6 separate regions of the Homo sapiens genome follow, and regions 1, 2, 3, 4 and 5 are each linked to region 6. The links are contacts of gene promoters, found by promoter capture Hi-C in human tissues and cell types (Jung and others, 2019). All regions are on one chromosome and are shown on one strand. The core of a region is centred on a gene start or on the middle of the fragment in contact, and the rest is flanking DNA. Distances in the headings are between cores, read along the strand shown. Region 1 overlaps DAPK2 (death associated protein kinase 2). Region 2 overlaps LACTB (lactamase beta). Region 3 has its middle 10 kb from the start of MIR422A. Region 4 overlaps DAPK2 (death associated protein kinase 2). Region 5 has its middle 28 kb from the start of MIR422A. Region 6 holds the start of FBXL22 (F-box and leucine rich repeat protein 22).

Region 1 (2,906 bases), core at 212-2,711, 330 kb after region 6:
CAGAGCCCTCCCAGAAAACCAGATTGGTGAGGGGAGGTGCAGAATGAAGAATTAACTGGCACCTCAGCAATTCTGGATTCTGTGGAGGGGCTGGAAGGCTATACTACAGACACACACCCCTGCAGGATAATTCTAGCTGGAGGCCGCAGCAGGGTGGATGAGAACATGCTTCTGCAAACCTCTTGGGATGCATCACTGACTGGATTCTGGCGATTAGAGCTTCCAGCCTGCCAGAAATTCCTCAGTGCATGATCTGCTGAGCAGCTCTGACAGGGATTCACTGGTGTCCTGGTAGAATGTGGAGCCCAGGCCCTCAGAGCTCCCACTCTCCAGCTGGAAGCTGCCCACCAGCTCCTGAATCCACTGCAGGTCTGCGGAGAGCTCCTGCCTCAGAATCTCAAACTGGGCTTGCAGATGGTCCAGTTTCCTGGCCATGCTTCCGAGGCTACATCCCGTGGCCTGGATGTCTTCTCGCAGCAGCTTCTTCAATGACTCCACCTTGCGGAACTCATACCTGAGCTGGGACAGGTCATGCCGGGCGCTCTCATTCTCCTCTCGGTACCAAGCTTCCTTCTCATTGAAGATGGAGACCAGGGCCTCCACATCGTCCTGGATGGTATCGTGGGCCTCCACCAGGGCACGGCATCCCAGGTCGACCCGAGCCACGTCTTCCACCACACAGGCAAAACGCTCGAAGTTGACATAGGAGTTGTTGGGAGGCATGCTTGAGTGGCATTTGAGAGTGTACTCTCTCAGGTGCTTGGTCTTCAGCTGGGTGGGCTCTGTCTTCCGCTGTTCAGGGGCTCTGCCTTCTCCTTTTGACTGGTGGGTGTTCAGACAGAAGAATCAGAGTGTTAATTTGCCGCCCACCCCAGAGGGCAGTCCAAAGGGTAGGCAGAAGGCACACAAGCGGCCTCTGGCATTCACTGCATGCGTCAGGCCATGGGGAGAACCAGGGTGGGATGAGCACCTCCTTAGGCCATAAGTGAGGTCAAGGAGTGTGGGGGTGCTGTCTGCATGCTCATTCAGGGCAGAAGGGTCCACAGCCATTAGAGAGAGCTCCACACACATAGCATTTAAGGGGTGCTCACGCAGACAAGCAGGCTGCAGCCAGGACTCCGCAGGCATCTGCGCAGGGCTGGAGCACGCAAGGCCAGGGCTCACGCAGCAGGGCTGAGGAGCATCTCTCCTTCAGGGCTCCTTGGGCCTTCCCCATCCTTCAATGAGCTGATGAAGCTGAGCAGATAAAGCTGACCTCTTCCCAGACGACTCCAGCCCTCCCTGTTCTGTCTTCCACAGGCCTCACCTTCTCTTTGTATTGATTGATTGATTATTATTTTTTAGAGAGATGGGGTCTTGGCATGTTGCTCAAGTTGGTCTTGAACTCCTGGGCTCAAGTCATCCTTCTGCTGCCTCGGCCTCCCAAAGTGCTGGGATTACAGGCATGAGCCACTGCACCTGGCCTGCCTCACCTTTTCTTATCTCCACCTTTCTTATGGTCATTTCATCCTTGCTGGCCTTCTCACATAACAGTTAAGGTGAATGGGAAGTCTGGTGACGTCCCTGGGTGTGCATAGCTGGTCAGTCAGCAGAATTAGGGCCTGAATCCTGCTGAGTCTCACCCTCTCAAAGTGCTCTTCACCACACCAGACCACAAGAGCCTCTGGAAAGCCAGCAGCTGACTGGAAAGCCAGCAGGAAGCCCGACTGCAAGGCGAGTTAGGCAGGGATTCATTTTTTTGCCCTGACTCTCCCCAGAGGGAACAGAATTGCCCTAACAGTGGCTGTCTCTCTTCCCCACCAGGCCTCTGTCTCAGGCCCCATTCCTCAGGGCCTGAGGAGGTGGGTGGCTGATTTAAGTGTCATCCTTGACTTAGAGCCCCAAAAATCAGAAGGAAGGAGGCCTGGTCACAAAGTGGGGGTTTTCAATTGTCATCTATCTTTCTACACCTGGGGAGTCCTGATTTCCACTTGGAGAAGTGGCAGTGACATACCCTTCAACAAAGAACACTGTGTAAGTTGGCCCCAAAGAAAAAGGGTTTCAACTGTGGTTTGTGAGGGTTTCATTTCATAAGTTACCTGAATTTGAGACACACAAACTTAAAATAGCAAGCAAATAAACCTATTCGAATAAGCCCAGGCCCTCTGGGGCCCCTGGCTAGCTTTCATCTGTGCCCAGGGTCAGTGTTTAAAGCAAAGGCCTCTCCATGGGCCCTCTGCATCTGGCTGCCCAGGCCAACCCTGGCGACAGAGCAGGGACCCTTTGCCCATTGGAACTCATGGCTGTGCCCTTACCGTGATCCAGGGGTGTCTGAGAGCCTCTTGGATTGTGAGCCGTTTCCTGCAATGAGGATTGGGAAACAGTGATGATCCATGAGGACAGAAGTTGGGAGCAACCATCTCCGTTCTCACTCTTTTTAGACCTATATTTTGGCATTATTTGGCCACTGCCGTCAAACCAGTGGAATGGAGGATGCAGAGATGGATGGGAGCTGGCTGCAAATCCTGCACTCCAGGGGAAGGAAGCAGTCCAGACAGACCCCTCAATAGAGTGGCCTTGTTACCTACACCCATACTATTAGTCCCAAAGCTGAAAGGCCTAAGAAGAGTCATAAATGCTCCAATGAGCTTCCAGAATCTTCCAAAAGCCAACTCTCCATTGCTAAATCCCTGGTCTGTTTTTCTGTTTGCCTCCTGGATCCGTTCTCTGCCTTTCGCTGCTCTGTACCCAGGTAAGCAACTCTCCCTAGCACTGTTCTTAGACAGGAAAATCAGGGCCCTTGCACTCCAGACAACCCCACTCTGGCCCTCTCTGAAGTCTGTGGGATGGAGAGGACATGGTGTTCTAGTCTGTGGACCTTTCTTCCTGCCCCATCCAGAGCATGCTCTGGGTACCCAGCGCCCTGC
Region 2 (3,231 bases), core at 644-3,143, 470 kb before region 6:
TCTATATCTGGTATAACTATTCTTGTTTTATATTTTATTATACTGGAACAGCTCGTGTCCTCGGTCTCTTGCCTCAGCGCCTGGGTGGCTTGCCGCCCACACACTATTCCTTGTCTTTAATGACTTTTCAGTCTACTTTATTAGGCTTTTTAACCAGGTAGAGGTGTCATCTATTTTTTTCAAACAGAAGGCAAAAAACTTAGGGAGAGGGATTTCTATTCATTTTATGATACTTTTATCAAGGCATTATTTTTCATAACTTCTCTGTTGCACAGAAATTGATCTAATTGGTCATCCTAGGTTTCTAGGAGTCCCACTTTTAGAAAATGATGTTTCAGGCCAGGTGCAGTGGCTCACGCCTGTAATCCTAGCACTTTGAGAGGCAGAGGCAGGTGGGTTGCCTGAGCTTAGGAGTTCGAGACCAGCCTGGACAACGTGGCAAAACCCCATCTCTACTAAAAACACAAAAAATTAGCCAGCCATGCTAGTGCGTGCCTGTAATCTCAGCTACTCGGGAGGCCAGGATACGAGAATCGCTTGAACTCGGGAGGCGGAGGTTTGCAGTGAGCCAAGATCGTTCACTGCACTCCAGCCTGGGCAACAGCGAGACTCTGTCTCAAAAAAAAAGAAAAAAAAATGTTTCATATGCCATTTAAAGGCAGTAAGTTGATGGGCGCAGTAGGGGTTTGAATTTGAAGAAAAATGGGCCAGTTGAGGTGGCGCACGCCTGTAATCCCAGCGCTTAGGGAGTCCAGGGAGGAAGGATGGCTGAAGACCAGAAGTTTGAGACCAGCTTAGGCACCATAGCGACACCTGTGTCTCTATAAAAAAAATTTTATTTATTTATTTTTTTTTTGGAGTTTCACTCTTGTTGCCCAGGCTGGAGTGCAATAGTGCGATCTCAGCTCACCACAACCTCCACCTCCCAGGTTCAAGTGATTCTCCTGCCTCGTCCTCCCGATTAGCTGGGATTACAGGCATGCACCACCACGCCTGGCTAATTTTTGTATTTTAAGTAGAGACGGGGATTCTCCATGTTGGTCAGGCTGGTCTCGAACTCCCGACCTCAGGTGATGCGCCTGCCTCGGCATCCCAAAGTGCTGGGATTACAGGCGTGAGCCACCGTGCCCAGCTTAAAATTTTTTAAAAAAGGAAAATGATTCTTCCTTCAAGTATAAGTATAATCTAATCATTATACCTAATTTATGATAAGTCTTGTAATCAAAAATTATATAAATGTCAGCTTTATGGACTTTATGCAAATATTTTTTAGATATTTAAGATTATACAAATTTATAGTCATTGTATTCCTTTTCTTTTCAGATCTCTGTTCTCTTTTTATTTATTTATTTATTTATTTTTTGGACAGGGTCTCTTACTGTGTCTCCCAGGCTGGCGTGCAGTGGTGTGATCTTGGCTCACTGCAATCTCAAACTCCTGGGCTCAGATGATTCTCCCACCTCAGCCTCCTGACTAGCTGAGACTACAGGTGCACTCCACCACGCCAGGCTTTTTTCTTTCTTTCTTTCTTTTTTTTTTTTGTATATTTTGTAGAGATGCGGTTTCTGCCATGTTGCTCAGGCTAGTCTCGAAATCCTGAGCTCAAGTAATCCACCCGTCTCCGCCTCCCAAAGTGCTGGGATTGCAGGCACTTTCTCTTTCTTAGTTAGATTTACGCACTTTCAGCCTGTGAGAACATGGAAACCAAATTTAAAATTTTTTCTAGAAAAAGCTTTAAGTTAGTACATAATTTTCCTCCTGGTTTGCAGTCGAATTAAATTGATGGTTAGCTAGATTTGGTTTGCAGGACATCTTTTCACACATTTTTGAGACAGTTTCACTTTGTCGCCCTGGCTGGAGTGCAGTGGCGTTTTCTCAGCTCACCGCAACCTCTGCCTCCAAGGTTCAAGCGATTCTCCTGCCTCAGCCTCCCGAGTAGCTGGGATTACAGGCACACGCCACCATGACTGGCCAATTTTTGTATTTTTAGTAGAGACGGGGTTTTACCATGTTGGCCAGGCTAGTCTTGAACTCCCAATCTCAGGTGATCTGCTCACCTTGGCCACCCAAAGTGCTCAGATTATAGGCATGAGTCACCATGCCCGGCCCACACTTACTTTTATTGAGTGGCTATTTCAAGGAATTCAGTGGAAATTTACTCAAAAGTCAAAAATAAATATAATCTGAAGAAGAATAATGATGTTTTCTTTAAAGAATACTTTATTTAAAATGTGGAATAACTCAGTTGTTTAGATAAGCTAAGAAAAATTTGTATCTAAGTCATAGAAAATTGCTATTGCAAACAGGGTACAATTTCACTTTAGTTATAAGGTTAAATTGTTAGGCTTACCGATATACTAAGATTTTAATCCTTTACATGTCCAGTGTTAAGTAACTTATAAAAGTGGAGTATCTTTTCTTTTAGATAAACACAGCATGTTTAAAGATAGTATTATTTCAGGGTTTGAAAACTTGTTTGACCATGAAGCCTGTTAATAGTGACTTTTTGCTTTTTTCCCCCAAAGGTTTAGGTTATGCTGATGTTGAGAACCGTGTACCATGTAAACCAGAGACAGTTATGCGAATTGCTAGCATCAGCAAAAGTCTCACCATGGTTGCTCTTGCCAAATTGTGGGAAGCAGGGAAACTGGATCTTGATATTCCAGTACAACATTATGTTCCCGAATTCCCAGAAAAAGAATATGAAGGTGAAAAGGTACTGAAACTCACAGTTCATTTTACTAATGGCATGTTAAATGGTTTATGCTGGAATTTATATTTAAAATGTTTCATAGGATTCTTTGGCTTGTTTTTAGTTATTGTTAATGTATTAGTTTTTCTTAATCCAGATGATAATCAGGTAGGTATTTTTCTGAAATTTGAGGCTAAGGATTTGTACATGACATTTTCCCAGCAGCAGTTCTAAGTGGAAAATATTACTGAGACATTATTCCGAGGCAACTAACTTTCTATTTTTCAGGTTAATATTGTAATTGAATTTTCATGTTTTTACAATTAGGTTTCTGTCACAACAAGATTACTGATTTCCCATTTAAGTGGAATTCGTCATTATGAAAAGGACATAAAAAAGGTGAAAGAAGAGAAAGCTTATAAAGCCTTGAAGATGATGAAAGAGAATGTTGCATTTGAGCAAGAAAAAGAAGGCAAAAGTAATGAAAAGAATGATTTTACTAAATTTAAAACAGAGCAGGAGAATGAAGCCAAATGCCG
Region 3 (2,941 bases), core at 442-2,941, 280 kb after region 6:
ATCTCTTGTTGGTAGCAGGGTGCAGCTAGTGTCCAAACTAATGCTTGGTGATGAGGACAGTGGCTGGTTGAGTCCATAGGGGACCTGCCAGGCACACCCTCCCTCAGGATTCTGGTTGCCAAGGCTGCCTCTTACTGAGGCCTGAGCACAATGCATTCACTCTCCCCTGGGCCAGGAGCAACTCTGCACAGGCAGGGGCGGGCTCCCTAGGGCCAGCCCCCAACCAGGCTCCAGGAATGCTGAGGGAGTACACCAAGAGAAGGCTAGCCTAGAGGCAGCTCCCAAGATGCTCATCCCAGGGACCCAGATCTCAACAGCTGTGCCCTCAGAGTCAGTAGGGACAAATGGACCTCTTCAGAGAGCTACCCTTGTGGGGCCTGGGCCCCCAACAGCACACCTGGGGACCCCAATCCTAGGCAAAACTTGAGAGGACACTGGGGGACCCAAGTAACAGCCTGTGAGGGTCCCTTGCCCAGTTGGGAAGCCTCACTCTACATTTTTCCTTCCTGTATATAATTCTTTCATCTCTAAATACCATCCACTGAGAGGCTTTTATTTCCTTAGTTTGTACAACCATTTAAGGATGGAGATTATGACTTCTTCAGCACAATCCAAGCACCTTAGCACAGAGCTGAGATGCACGGTATTTAGAAAATGGGTTAAGTTGAAAGGAAAGAAATCGAGTTGGATTCCTTGGGGGTTCTCAAAGGTACTTGGAAGTTCACAGAACCAAAATGAGCAAGGAGAGTTTCTACGTCTTGATGCACCTGCCAATACAGATTTCAGTACTTTATTTATTTATTTATTTATTAATCTATTTATTGAGACAGAGTCTTGTTCTGTCACCCAAGCTGGAGCACTGTGGTGCAAATATCACTCACTGTAGCCTTGACCTCGTGGGCTCTTGGGAACTTTCCAGTGAGACTTAGAAGGAAATGCCTCAGCTTTAGGGGAAATTCCCAAGAGAAACAGTTCAGTTAAACTACTTTCTACGGTCCGAGGCCATCGCATGGTCATGACTGGCTGTGAGGGAGATAGAGAAAGGTGAGACTTGGGTCCACATCTTGGAGCCCCCTGGGAAAGAGGATATTATTAACCTATATTAGAATTCTAGTGTGAATGAGTTCCCCTACTCATTTTTCCCAGAAGCTAAGGAGAGAGCTTAAGAGGTTACTTTTTTTTTTTTTTTTAGGCAGGGTCTCACTCTGATGCCCACACAGGAGGGCAGTGGCGTGGTCTCAGCTCACTGCAACCTCCGCCTGCCAGGCTCAAGTGATTCTCCCACCTCAGCCTCCCAAGTAGCTGGGATTACAGGCTGCCATGCCCAGCTAATTTCTGTATTTTTAGTAGGGACAGGGTTTCACCATGTTGACCAGGCTGGTCTCAAACTCCTGACCTCAAATGATCCACCTGCCTCAGCCTTCTAAAGTGCTGGGATTGCAGGCAGGAGCCACTGTGCCCGGCCCAGAGGTTACAATTTGAATTGCAGACGTGTGTGAAAAATCAGGCCTTGGTGATGACCTTGAGCCGCAGGATATAAATAACTCCCACCTGCTTAGCATTCCAATAATGGAACACTAGGCATAAGACCTTCTGGTGGGCAGGTACCCATCTGGGAGGCTGCAACAGATTGTGGTTTCAAACACTATTTCTTCCATTTGCCAGCTGAGTGATCTAAGACGAATAATCTGCCCCTTTGAGTCTCAGCTTCCTCATCCCCAAAGTGGGGAAGTGAAAAGTGCGAGGTTGTTTAGACACGGATGGAACTGCCTGAGTGAAGACACTTGGCATGCAATAGGTGCTGGGCCATCCTACTTGCCAGCCTGCTTTTGTAGGGCAAAGAGGTGTAGTACCTTTTCCTCACCCATTCCAAGGTCCATGGCCAATACCCCCATGACAAAAAACAGATTAACGAGAGAAAAGCATAACACATTTATTTAATCTAAGTTTTACGTGATGCGAGAGGCTTCAGAAATGAAGATCCAGAGACAAAGGGAAAACTGTGTATTTTTAAGCTTAGGTCCAATAAAGAACAGACAGCCATGTAGAAATGTGATTGGAAAGAGGGTGTGCTCTAATGGTGATAGACTGAAGGCAGAACACAGCAAGGCCTCTTGTTCAGCTTCTCTACGGCCTCTCTGTGTAGCGTTCTTTCCTTCCTGAGTAAGGGGCAGGACCCCTGTCGTATGAGGGTCTTCCAGGGAGATGGGAAGAGGTTAGAGAGTGACATTTCTAGGTTTCGTGGCTTGCACTGGGGAGAGGAGTTCTAGTTTCTATGACCTCTTTCAGGGGCAATACTGGGTAAGGAGAAAGGAGGGAAAGAAAAAGGAAGGCAGGAGAGGATCAGCAAGACTTGCTTTTGAGGCCCTTCCCATCCCTTCCAGTCCAAATAACTCAGAGTGCTAGAGTGCCATATTTTGGGATATTGTGTTCTGAGCCCCAATATTTGCTTGGGTTTTTTTTTTTTGTCCCTCCCTTCCTTCCTTTCTTCCTTCCTCCCTTCCTTCCTCCCTCCCTCAGGCCTGGCAGGCTGAGGAGGCTGCCCCTGCCATAGCTGCTCCACAGCAAGGCCTAGAGAGTAGCCACTGCACCAAGAGCCTTGGGCCAAGCTCTGAGCACCCTGGCTAATACCAAAGCTGGAGCCTAGAGCAGGGTTCCCAGAAGGTTATCTGGGGCTGGCTTTGACCACATTGGCTACAGCATGGCCTGTGGGTAGACATGCTCTGAACAGCTGAGGCTGACCTGAACGTTGGCATCATCAGCAGAATCATCTTCACCAAGCAGGGTTTGAACTTGAGGTCAGTGACCCCAGGCAGTGTGGGGAGAGGGTTCTTCACCTGGCTGTGCCCCATGGATGGACAGCTAGGACTATACTCTGGGCCCTGCCCTATAGCTCAAGAAACATCCTTTACCCAGAGGAGGCAGAGACATCCCAACTGGT
Region 4 (2,986 bases), core at 12-2,511, 380 kb after region 6:
AGATCTAACTACTAGTTACAGGAAATACAGGGAACAGAGGAATGAGTTAAAGAACACCATGAGGAAGGAACAAGTCTAATCCAGACTGTGAAACAGGACAAGTGGCCTAGTTTTCCAACATATCAATGGCATCAAAAAAGAGGCAAAAAAAGAGAAGGGGAAGGGGGAAGGTGAAAGGGTGAAGAGAGACTGAGATAAGATGGCACATTTGAGCATATGTACCATCTGCCATAGCTGCAGCGCCCCTCTGCTCAGGGTTGAGTAGGGTGTGGCCTAAGGTGGCTGCCTTGGTGTTGGGGACCAGGCTGGTGCACTATTTTCTCAGTGTCTCATGGGTGAGGCCGTCCTTTGCCCCACTCTGACCCTTGCCCCCACCTTGGGCAGGTGCTGGAAGCTGGAGCACCCTCCCAGCTGCTGGAGTAACCCTGGGTCTGCTCTGCAGACTGGGGTCAAAGGGCCAAGATGATGGCTCCAATCCTTCAGCAGCAAAGATACAACCTTCACCTTGGGGTGGGACATGTGAGAGTTCTAGGGCTCAACTTTTCTTCTTGTGAAACAGGAGTGAAAAAAATAATGCTTTCATTACCAGCTTTGGATGTGAGGGTGGGAGTGAGAGGAATCTCTATGAGATTCTTGATAAAGTCCTTGACATAAACACCGTACATGGTGTCATCATCAGGGGTGGCAGTGGTGGAAGGGGGCTTGATTTAGAGTTTATTTGAAGTTTGCCACCGGTGCAATGTGCTTTCCCAAACATTTCCTCACTTGAGCTTGATATCCACCCGGAGGGCATCCTCATTCTCAGATGAGAAAACTGAGGTCTCAGGAGAGCAAGTGACTTGCCCAAGATCACACAGCTAGTAAGTGGCAGGACCAGGATTTAGACCCAGATTTTCTCAGCCCCAGTTCACCATGTGTCCCTCTCACCACAACCCTTCCACATTACAAAGCCTGAGGTGCTGATGCAAAATGGAAAGGCTCAAAGCAGCCCCAGGCACTGGGCAGTCCTCTGATATCCCTGCTCTGCTGCATCCACGCTCTCCTCACAGTGGGCTTCACTATCTATCTTCCTCTCTCCCCAGCTATATTATTTTTGCTTCCACAGCACCTAGTGCAAGAAAGACATTCAATCAGAAGTTTGGTGAATAAAAGAAGAAAGAAAGAAATAAAACATTAAAAATAACAACATGATGTAGAATATTCTGTATCATATAGACAGTGAAGCCTTGGTATTTGTGAAAGATCTGTCCAGAGCTCTCTGCAAATTTTCACATCTGCAGTGCCCCCTCTGAAACACACAGAACCCAGCTCCACCCTTAGTCTGCCAGCCCCTGCCAGGTTGTGTGGGCCTGTGACCTCGGGCAAATATCTAAATAAATAATAACCCTGCAATTCCTACTTTAAATAAAATGCTGCATCAGTGTAAAAGCTTCTTAGCTTAGCATTCCCAAAAGCCACTGACATGAAGTCTGGGGTTGAGGGAGGACTTTGGGGTGCAGTAATCAGTCATCTGTTTGAAGGTGAGATATGGGCAGGAGACCTGGTGAGACATGGTCTCCTTGGGATGAAGAAGGGAACAGCCACTGTGCCCCCTAGAATCTCCCCCAGAAACTCAGAAAGGTGGGAGGCTGATGACCTGCCACTGTCTAGGCCCTGGATACCCAGGCTGGGACATTCACATTAATGCTCAGTCACCTCTTTTCAAAGCCAAACCAAGGAGCCTGAGTGTCATTTCTTTACCCTCTAAGACCTCTGCCCTGGAGCCACCCCCCATCTCCTTCCAAGTTTCTTTCCTCTTACATCCCACATCTCTTTAGCTTTAAGATGAAAAACAAAGCCTCACGACCTGGCCTCATCTCTTCTCCTAGTGTTCCCAGGATCATCCCCTTCCTGCAAATCTGACCTTTGCCTCCTTCCTCCCTGCAGGGTGGCATGCCTGCTGGAAATGCTTTTCAGACTCTTCTGGAAATGTATACATGAATGACCTGCACAGGCAGCGATAGGGGAAAAATGCTGCCAGAGCTGCTGGGCCCAGGAAGCTGGGCTCAATTCAGGAACCTGGGAAGCATCACTGCCACCCTGGAGCACTCTGCCAGGCAGTTCTCTGGTATGCAACCACCACGGTATCGCTTTCCACAGGCTTGGAATCAAGGAGGCCCCAGAGCAGTCAGGGGCCTGTGATGGGAGGCCAGCCCAACCTTCACAGGGAGACTTACATTTTTCAGGGCTAGTTCCACATGTGACATGAGTTAAGCTGCTGAGATTTTGAATATATTCTATACCCCATACAGAAGTCAACTTATATGGACAATTAAATCCTTCCCAGTCCTGCCTTCAAGAGTCACGACCAGAGGCAGCTGCTTCTAGGGAGGTCACAGATGGGATAATAACAACTGAAAGGGATTTAGATCAGAGCCAGGCATGTCCTCCTAGTGCTGGCCACTTGAGCAGAAAGCAGGCGGAAGCCCTGCACCAGACAACAGTTGCTGAGAGGGGCAGTGGGATCAGCGTAGACTCATTCATAAAACCTGCAACTGGGCAGCTTTCAACTGAGTAGGTGGATACTAACACTTACTGGGCAAACCCACTAACCTATTAGGGCCCAGTGAGGACCACGAGGCCAAGACTTCTGACCAGCCTAACAGGAGTCACTAAGTCTAAGCAACAAAAGCCCATGAGGCTGGGTGCGGTGGCTCATGCCTGTAATCCTAGCACTTTGGGAGGCCAAGGCGAGTGGATCACTGGAGGCCAGGAGTTCAAGACCAGTCTGGCCAACAGAGTGAAACCCCACCTCTACTAAAAATACAAAAAAAATTAGCCAGGCATGGGGGCACATACTGGTAGTCCCAGCTACACAGGAGGCTAAGGCACAGGATCACTGGAACCCGGGAGGTAGAGATTGCAGTGAGCCGAGATCACGCCACTGCACTCCAGCCTGGGTGACAGAGCAAGACTCCATCTCAAAAAACAAACAAACAAACAAAAA
Region 5 (3,171 bases), core at 49-2,548, 300 kb after region 6:
CACACAAAGACATCCACACACACAAACACCCAGACACATCCACACACGTCCACACACCCCACAGAGACATGTCCACAACGGGTGCCTAGGTATGCCCAGAAACACACAGTTACCCGAATACAGCCAGACACACACACACACACACACACACACACACACACACACACACACACAGACTCCTCCAGAGGACTCAGGAAGAATCAGATCTGTCCCGTATGCCTGACCTTGAATGCCTCTGCCAACCCCAACAGATGGCCACTGGCTCTCCGACAGGGCCCTCTGGTCTCTGACCAAGAACCAGGGTCACAATGGACAGAGAAGGGGAAAATGGTAGAACTACTAATTCACCACCGTGCAGTTAACCCGCAGAAGTCTCATTCTTTCATTTAATTGGTAGCTTTCCAAAGTTCAGCCACGAGAAGGCGTAAGGACAAGCAATCAGAATACTAACCCATAACTTCCTGTCCCTTCTCTTAGCACCCATCCTTTAAGGCCAAATTAAAGTCCACCTTGTTCATATAGTCCTCCAGATTCCCAGAGTTAGAAACCGCAGCTTCTCCCATGCGCCCCTCATGTCATGCTTCTTGGTCTCTTTTTTTTTTTGAGATGGAGTTTCACTATTGTTTCCCAGGCTGGAGTGCAATGGTGCCATGTTGGCTCACTGCAACCTCTGCCTCCCGGGTTCAAGCGAGTCACCTGCCTCAGCTTCCCAAGTAGCTGGGATTACAGTGCCCACCAGCATGCCCAGCTAATTTTTGTATTTTTATTAGAAACAGGGTTTCACCATATTGGCCAGGCTGGTCTCGAACTCCCGACCTCAGGTGATCCACCTGCCTCAGCCTCCCAAAGTGATGGGATTACAGGTGTGAGCCACCGCGCCTGGCCCACCATTGATTTTTTTTTTTAAAGACGAATTGAGTACCAACTGCTCTGTTCACAGCTTTCTTTTCCTTTTTGTCTTTCTTTAAGAGACAGGTCTCACTGCAGTGACTATTCACAGATACAATCATAGTTTGCAATGTAGCCTCCAACTCCTGGACCCAAGCAGTCCTCTCGCCTCAGCCTCCCAAGTGGCTGGGACTACAGGTGCACCACTGTCCCCAGCTGACAGCTTTAAGGTGAGTGCAGTGGCTGTGTCAGTCCATGCCTGCCAAAGGAATCAGTGGAGACAAAAAGAAGGAGCAAATTCAAACTTTCCTCCTTTTGCCCTCTCTCCTATGTGGGTTCAGATTCTTCAGGAAGCAGATGCCAAGATGGGATGAGAAGTGCTGGAGACCTGGGGTGTGGGATGAGGAACGCCTATGAAGGATGAAGGGGAAAGGAAGCAGGAGTAGGCAAGGGAGAGCTTTCAGGCCATGATGTAGGTGTGACACCTAAGGAAGGAGGGTGGGAAGGAAGGAGGGCTGGCTAGGAAGTGCCTCTGATGGCAGAGCAACCCAGAGAAGGGCTCAGCCAGGTGATGAGCAGTCCAGGGGCAAATATTAGAAGGGTCCCATGCTGGGCAGGAATGGCCTGGTTCGAGTACCCGCCGCGTGTCTCCCATCCCACCATGCTCAATCACTGGCCAAAAGCAGCCTACGGAGAGTGAAGACCTTGTGGCTACTCTGAGAATGCTCTGAGAATACCTGGGCTGGGATTTTTATTCCCCTTTTAAGGAGAAGGGGTAGAATATACCCCTGCCCCTCCCAGCCCTGCCTCCTCAAACATCGCCTCCTCTTGGAGTTTGAGTAAGGACGTGGGTCTGAGGACAACTTCCAAGGCCAACTGGGCTGAGTTTGCCAGCTCATGCTCCAGGTGCCTTCATGTCTCTTTGGACTTAAACCTACAGGCTAGAACAGTATTTGAAAAGTCAGCTGGCACTTAGCAAACTAATACAACACCCTGAAGGGGTGGCAGCTGGGGGCCAGCAGTGAATAGCACTCTTTGCTGCGGGTTCTCTCTTGAAGGCACTTCCGGGGCTGCCACACTTCTTATCTCCTTCCCTCCTTCCTTCATTCCCTCCTTCATTCCCTCCCACCCCACCTTTCCTCCTCAGATCTTCATACCATCTGCCAGGCACCAGCACACTGTGGAGCCCCATAAATGAACTGACACAGTCCTTCCCTTCAAAGAGCTCCCATCCAGAGCTTCCTCTTGCACCCACAGACGGGAAGCTTGCACGACCTTCCGTCAGGCTGCCCGGCCCTTCCGGACAGATCTTCCAAGCACCTCCACCACCCTCTGTCTTGCCAGCCAGCCCAGAGACAAACACTCAGTGCCTGCTCACAGGGGCAAAGTGTGTAAATAAGTGAAGCAGCCAAAACAATGAAACTCTTTGGCTATTTGAAGTATATTTCTAAGTTTCAATGGCAACATAATTCTTCCCAGCTTTTTCTTCTTTTTTTTTTCTTCTTTTCGAGACAGAGTTTCGCTTTTCTTGCCCAGGCTGGAGTGCAGTGGTGCAATCTCAGCTCCCTGCAACCTCTACCTCCCAAGTTCAAGTGATTCTTCTGCTTCAGCCTCCTGAGTAGCTGGAATGACAGGCGCCCGCCACCATGCCTGGATAATTTTTGTATTTTTAGTAGAGACAGGATTTCACCATGTTGGCCAGGCTGGTCTCGAACTTCTGACCCCAGGTGATCTGTTCACCTCAGCCTCCCAAAATGCTGGGATTACAGGCGTGAGCCACTGTGCCCGGCCTTCCCAGCTTCTTTCTTACCTTAACCCCCCATGCACCTCACTTTTATCCACTACTGTCTTGAAATTAACAAATACTTGTTGGGATGCATCATAAAATAGTATTTCATCTATAAAAACGAGTGAAAAAGGCAGATACACACCAACCACAGCAGAGTTACACTGTGGAGATTTTTTTTTTTTTTTTTTGAGTGGGAGTCTCACTCTGTCACCCAGGCTGGAGTGCAGTGGCATGATCTTGGCTCACTTCAACCCCCACCTCCCGGGTTCAAGCAATTCTCCTTCCTCAGCCTCCTGAGTAGCTGGGCTTACAGGCACACGCCACCACGCGTAAGAGGTGAACTACAACGTCTCTATGAAGGAAAAGTCAGGCCCTGGACTCCACAGACAATCAACTCCTGAGTAAGAAAAGAGGCAGGGTGTCCAGTGCCCAAGGGTGCCTGGAATATAAAGCCTACAAAGATGCTTGTCTCTGCCCTGCTGGTGGTTTGGCAC
Region 6 (3,281 bases), core at 628-3,127:
ACAAGTACCACTCTGGCCTTGCAAGAAGTGGAAAGAACCACCTATTCCTAAGGGTCAAACCCTCTGAAAAGCATTGGTTTGAGGAGGATTGGGGAGGGAAAGTGGAGATAATGTGGCTTTCTAATAACACCACCTGTGGTTTTGCAGCATCCATTTTAAGTGGAGAAGTACACCTAGACAGAGCCTAAATTAGGGTGTCAGCTATAATTCAGAACTACATTGATGAGCTTGAAATAGCAGCAGTATCTTGCTCCCCTTCCTTGGGAAATGCTTCCTTTCGACCTCCTTGGTTTGTTTTTAAGAGAACCCCCTACTGTACTTCATCTTGGCATGGTGGAGTAATGGAGGCACAGGGGCACCAGCTGAGGCTGGCTTCTCAGGAAAGCCACTGACAATGGCTACTTCCTTCTTTGCTTGACTGCCTTCTGCTTTAAAGGCAAAGCTGCACCAGCCCTGACCAAACCTTAGTTCCAGAAGTGGGTTCAGCATAGGCTGCTTCATTTGTGTCTATGGGAAAACACAAGGATTCCCATTCCCTCTTATTCCAAATGGGAGAACAAACAGAAGTAACCACTGAGGTGGTGGTCCCTGGGCTGGCAGAGGAAAAACCATTCTCTTCTCACTATTGCCTAGGCAGAACGTGGCCTATACAGCTGCACCATATCAGCATCCCCCAAGCAAACCAAAAAACAACGACTGGGATTCAAAGCAGGAGAGTTAAGGTTGGGTCCTGGGTTTGGGAGTGAAGCAGCATGAGGAAACGGGTCTGCCATATCGTGAAGCCTCGGGTACTCAGGAAGGGGGAGCTTCACGGATAGTACCTCCAGGCACCTTGCCTAGAGTTGAGTCAGAGAGGGCAGGGGTGGCCCACTGGCTTCTCCAAGAGGGAACGGAGGGCACTCATAGAATGGATGGTGTGTGGTCAACTTAAAGGCAAAGATGGACTAAAATACTGAACTTAAAATTGTTTCAAGCAGTTTCACATTAAGAGCTACCTCATCCATCCTGACATTTTGGGAAGTACAGGTTATACATAGTACAAGGCCTTATCAGTGAGAAAATGTAAAGCCAAGTAAATTTAAATTTAAAACACAGAAAGTACTGCTTGACCAAAACTACAAAAACAACAACAACAACAACAAAGCACCAATAAAACATAAAACACAGACACACAACTTTGGAAAGCAGCTACTTCAGTAAAATTCTTTTATGAAACAACTCAGGGTAAAAATCTAGCTGTTGGGGAGGCCCAGGAAAATCCCCCTGCCTAGTGGCAGGCAGCAGGGCTTGAAGGCCAACCAGCCTAGCCTGGAGACAATTACTCTATGGCACAAAAATAACAGGAATGAGGCAGCAGCCATGGACTCTGCTCACAACTCACAACCGTCACCCTTAGCTCTCCACACGCAACAGGTTTCTTCCTAGTAAGGGTGGAGCAAAAGATTCACACTGATGTACTAGAAAATCAAAACAGTTAACATTTACAATTACACTCCTTCCCCCTAAGTACAGACTGCAAAGCCAGACAGAGCTGGCCTGGCCGCCACCACTGCCAATGAAAACGCCTTGGGAAAAGCCAAAAGTGCTCACTGCTAAACACCATTGTCAGCTAAAGGGAAAAAAAAAATCCCTTTTAAGGAAAGTAACTTCAATAGGCTCCTTTTCTGCCAGGACCTCCAATCCCTCTGAACATAAGCCGAACCACAGACTGCCGCACATGTGTCTGGGTCCTGGCTTTTCTTCCCTCACCCCTCCGCAGAGCTTCAGCACCAGTTGTTAGCCAAAAATAAACACCATTCCTCAACCATATATGTCCACCGGCCCAGAGTCGGGGAGGAGGAGAGGAGGCAGGTCAGCCGTCCCCCGGCTGCAGCTGCACTCACATGTGGCCACTGCTCACCATGCACATAACCCAGCTCAACCGGGAGTGCCTGCTGCACCTCTTCTCCTTCCTAGACAAGGACAGCAGGAAGAGCCTTGCCAGGACCTGCTCCCAGCTCCACGACGTGTTTGAGGACCCCGCACTCTGGTCCCTGCTGCACTTCCGTTCCCTCACTGAACTCCAGAAGGACAACTTCCTCCTGGGCCCGGCACTCCGCAGCCTCTCCATCTGCTGGCACTCCAGCCGCGTGCAGGTGTGCAGCATTGAGGACTGGCTCAAGAGTGCCTTCCAGAGAAGCATCTGCAGCCGGCACGAGAGCCTGGTCAATGATTTCCTCCTCCGGGTGTGCGACAGGTAGGCCACCTTGCCTCCTGAGCAGTGCTGGCCCCGCTAGCTCTGGCTTCCCTCTTGGGGGGCAGGGAAGAGCAAATTACGAGACCAAGATGGCTCCACCTTCGGGGCGCCTCAAACTAGGCCCAAGGCAGACATCCAGACCGCCCAAAGCAGGGTCCCCAGGAGACAATAAAATCATGAGGGAAACAATTGCTAATCCTCCTCTTAGCCTCACAGGTCCTGGGCTGCTTCATGCAAACACCAAGAAGTGGGGCCTCCGTACTGGTAGTCATTAAGTGCTGGGTGGGTCCAGCTGGGCCTGGATTTTCAAGGTCAGGCTCTGGGAAAAGGCTTCCAGATGCAGCAATCAGCTCACCCCTCCATTAGGCCTAGCAAGCAGCCCTCAAGGCCTGGGAAACTACGGAGGAAAGAGAGGGTGGGGAGCCAGAGGTGGAGAAGCCAGGGTGCTCAGGTCAGCTGAGCCAAACCAGACTCCAGGAGTAGATGAATTACTGATTTACACAGTATTCCTAAGGAGGGTGGCTTAGCCTAATTTTTCAAATTAGCAAACTGATGCTCCACGAGGTGGTATGATTTGCCCAGTCTAGGGTTGCCAGATTTTAGCAAATATATAGGCTGCCCAGTTAAATATGAATTTCAGATAAACAGTGAATAATATTTTAGTGTAAGTATGTCCCAAATACATCTTGTGTTTATCTGCTAACCCCCACCCCAGACACAGACATAGACACTGAACCACCAGGCCAGGCTCCCTCCATGGTCCCAGCCTCATGGGCAGAGCGGCCCAGGCAAGAACACAGAGCTATTCAACCAGCCTCTCACTGAGCTTCTGCCAGTCCCGTGCTGCCTTTGAGGAAAAACACCCCCTTGATCATATAACAAACTGGCCCTGGCTGTTCATGGAAAACTAGACTCAGCCAGTTTACTGCCACCCAAGTTCATAGCTGCTATTTGCTGGCAGCACGACAGGAGTGGAAGGAAACAGCGTAGTGACCCCACCTTTCTTTTGAGCTGGTAGGAAGAAAACAGAAGATGGACTTGGGGT

What was found. The method cuts DNA at HindIII sites, captures the fragments that hold promoters and counts their contacts. A contact is called where the count stands out against the background at its distance.
Region 1: a fragment that was not itself captured here is called in contact with the fragment with the promoter of FBXL22 in region 6 in 2 of the 25 tissues and cell types used here (dorsolateral prefrontal cortex and heart right ventricle).
Region 2: a fragment that was not itself captured here is called in contact with the fragment with the promoter of FBXL22 in region 6 in 1 of the 25 tissues and cell types used here (mesendoderm cells).
Region 3: a fragment that was not itself captured here is called in contact with the fragment with the promoter of FBXL22 in region 6 in 1 of the 25 tissues and cell types used here (H1 embryonic stem cells).
Region 4: a contact is called between a fragment that was not itself captured here and the fragment with the promoter of FBXL22 in region 6, in 1 of the 25 tissues and cell types used here (mesendoderm cells).
Region 5: a contact is called between a fragment that was not itself captured here and the fragment with the promoter of FBXL22 in region 6, in 1 of the 25 tissues and cell types used here (bladder).

What each region holds. Positions count from the first base shown.
Region 1 is chr15:63,922,522-63,925,427 of GRCh38, forward strand. DAPK2 (death associated protein kinase 2) reads right to left here. Exons shown (of 12, transcript NM_014326.5): 9 at 2,295-2,340. Among named protein-coding and RNA genes, the nearest start is that of MIR422A, 53 kb to the left of the region's middle. The HindIII fragment of the contact is 4,893 bases long and covers 1-2,906 here.
Region 2 is chr15:63,124,334-63,127,564 of GRCh38, forward strand. LACTB (lactamase beta) reads left to right here. Exons shown (of 6, transcript NM_032857.5): 3 at 2,526-2,716; 4 at 3,020-3,231. Among named protein-coding and RNA genes, the nearest start is that of LACTB, 4.1 kb to the left of the region's middle. The HindIII fragment of the contact is 3,214 bases long and covers 287-3,231 here.
Region 3 is chr15:63,880,019-63,882,959 of GRCh38, forward strand. No RefSeq gene overlaps it. Among named protein-coding and RNA genes, the nearest start is that of MIR422A, 10 kb to the left of the region's middle. The HindIII fragment of the contact is 4,145 bases long and covers 1-2,941 here.
Region 4 is chr15:63,976,953-63,979,938 of GRCh38, forward strand. The region is part of intron 3 of DAPK2 (death associated protein kinase 2); the gene reads right to left. Among named protein-coding and RNA genes, the nearest start is that of DAPK2, 68 kb to the right of the region's middle. The HindIII fragment of the contact is 5,270 bases long and covers 1-2,986 here.
Region 5 is chr15:63,897,293-63,900,463 of GRCh38, forward strand. No RefSeq gene overlaps it. Among named protein-coding and RNA genes, the nearest start is that of MIR422A, 28 kb to the left of the region's middle. The HindIII fragment of the contact is 3,616 bases long and covers 1-3,106 here.
Region 6 is chr15:63,595,510-63,598,790 of GRCh38, forward strand. FBXL22 (F-box and leucine rich repeat protein 22) reads left to right here and starts at 1,878. Exons shown (of 2, transcript NM_001367807.1): 1 at 1,878-2,236. The coding sequence starts at 1,884. All of the region lies in intron 1 of USP3-AS1 (USP3 antisense RNA 1), which reads right to left. The HindIII fragment of the contact is 12,633 bases long and covers 1-3,281 here.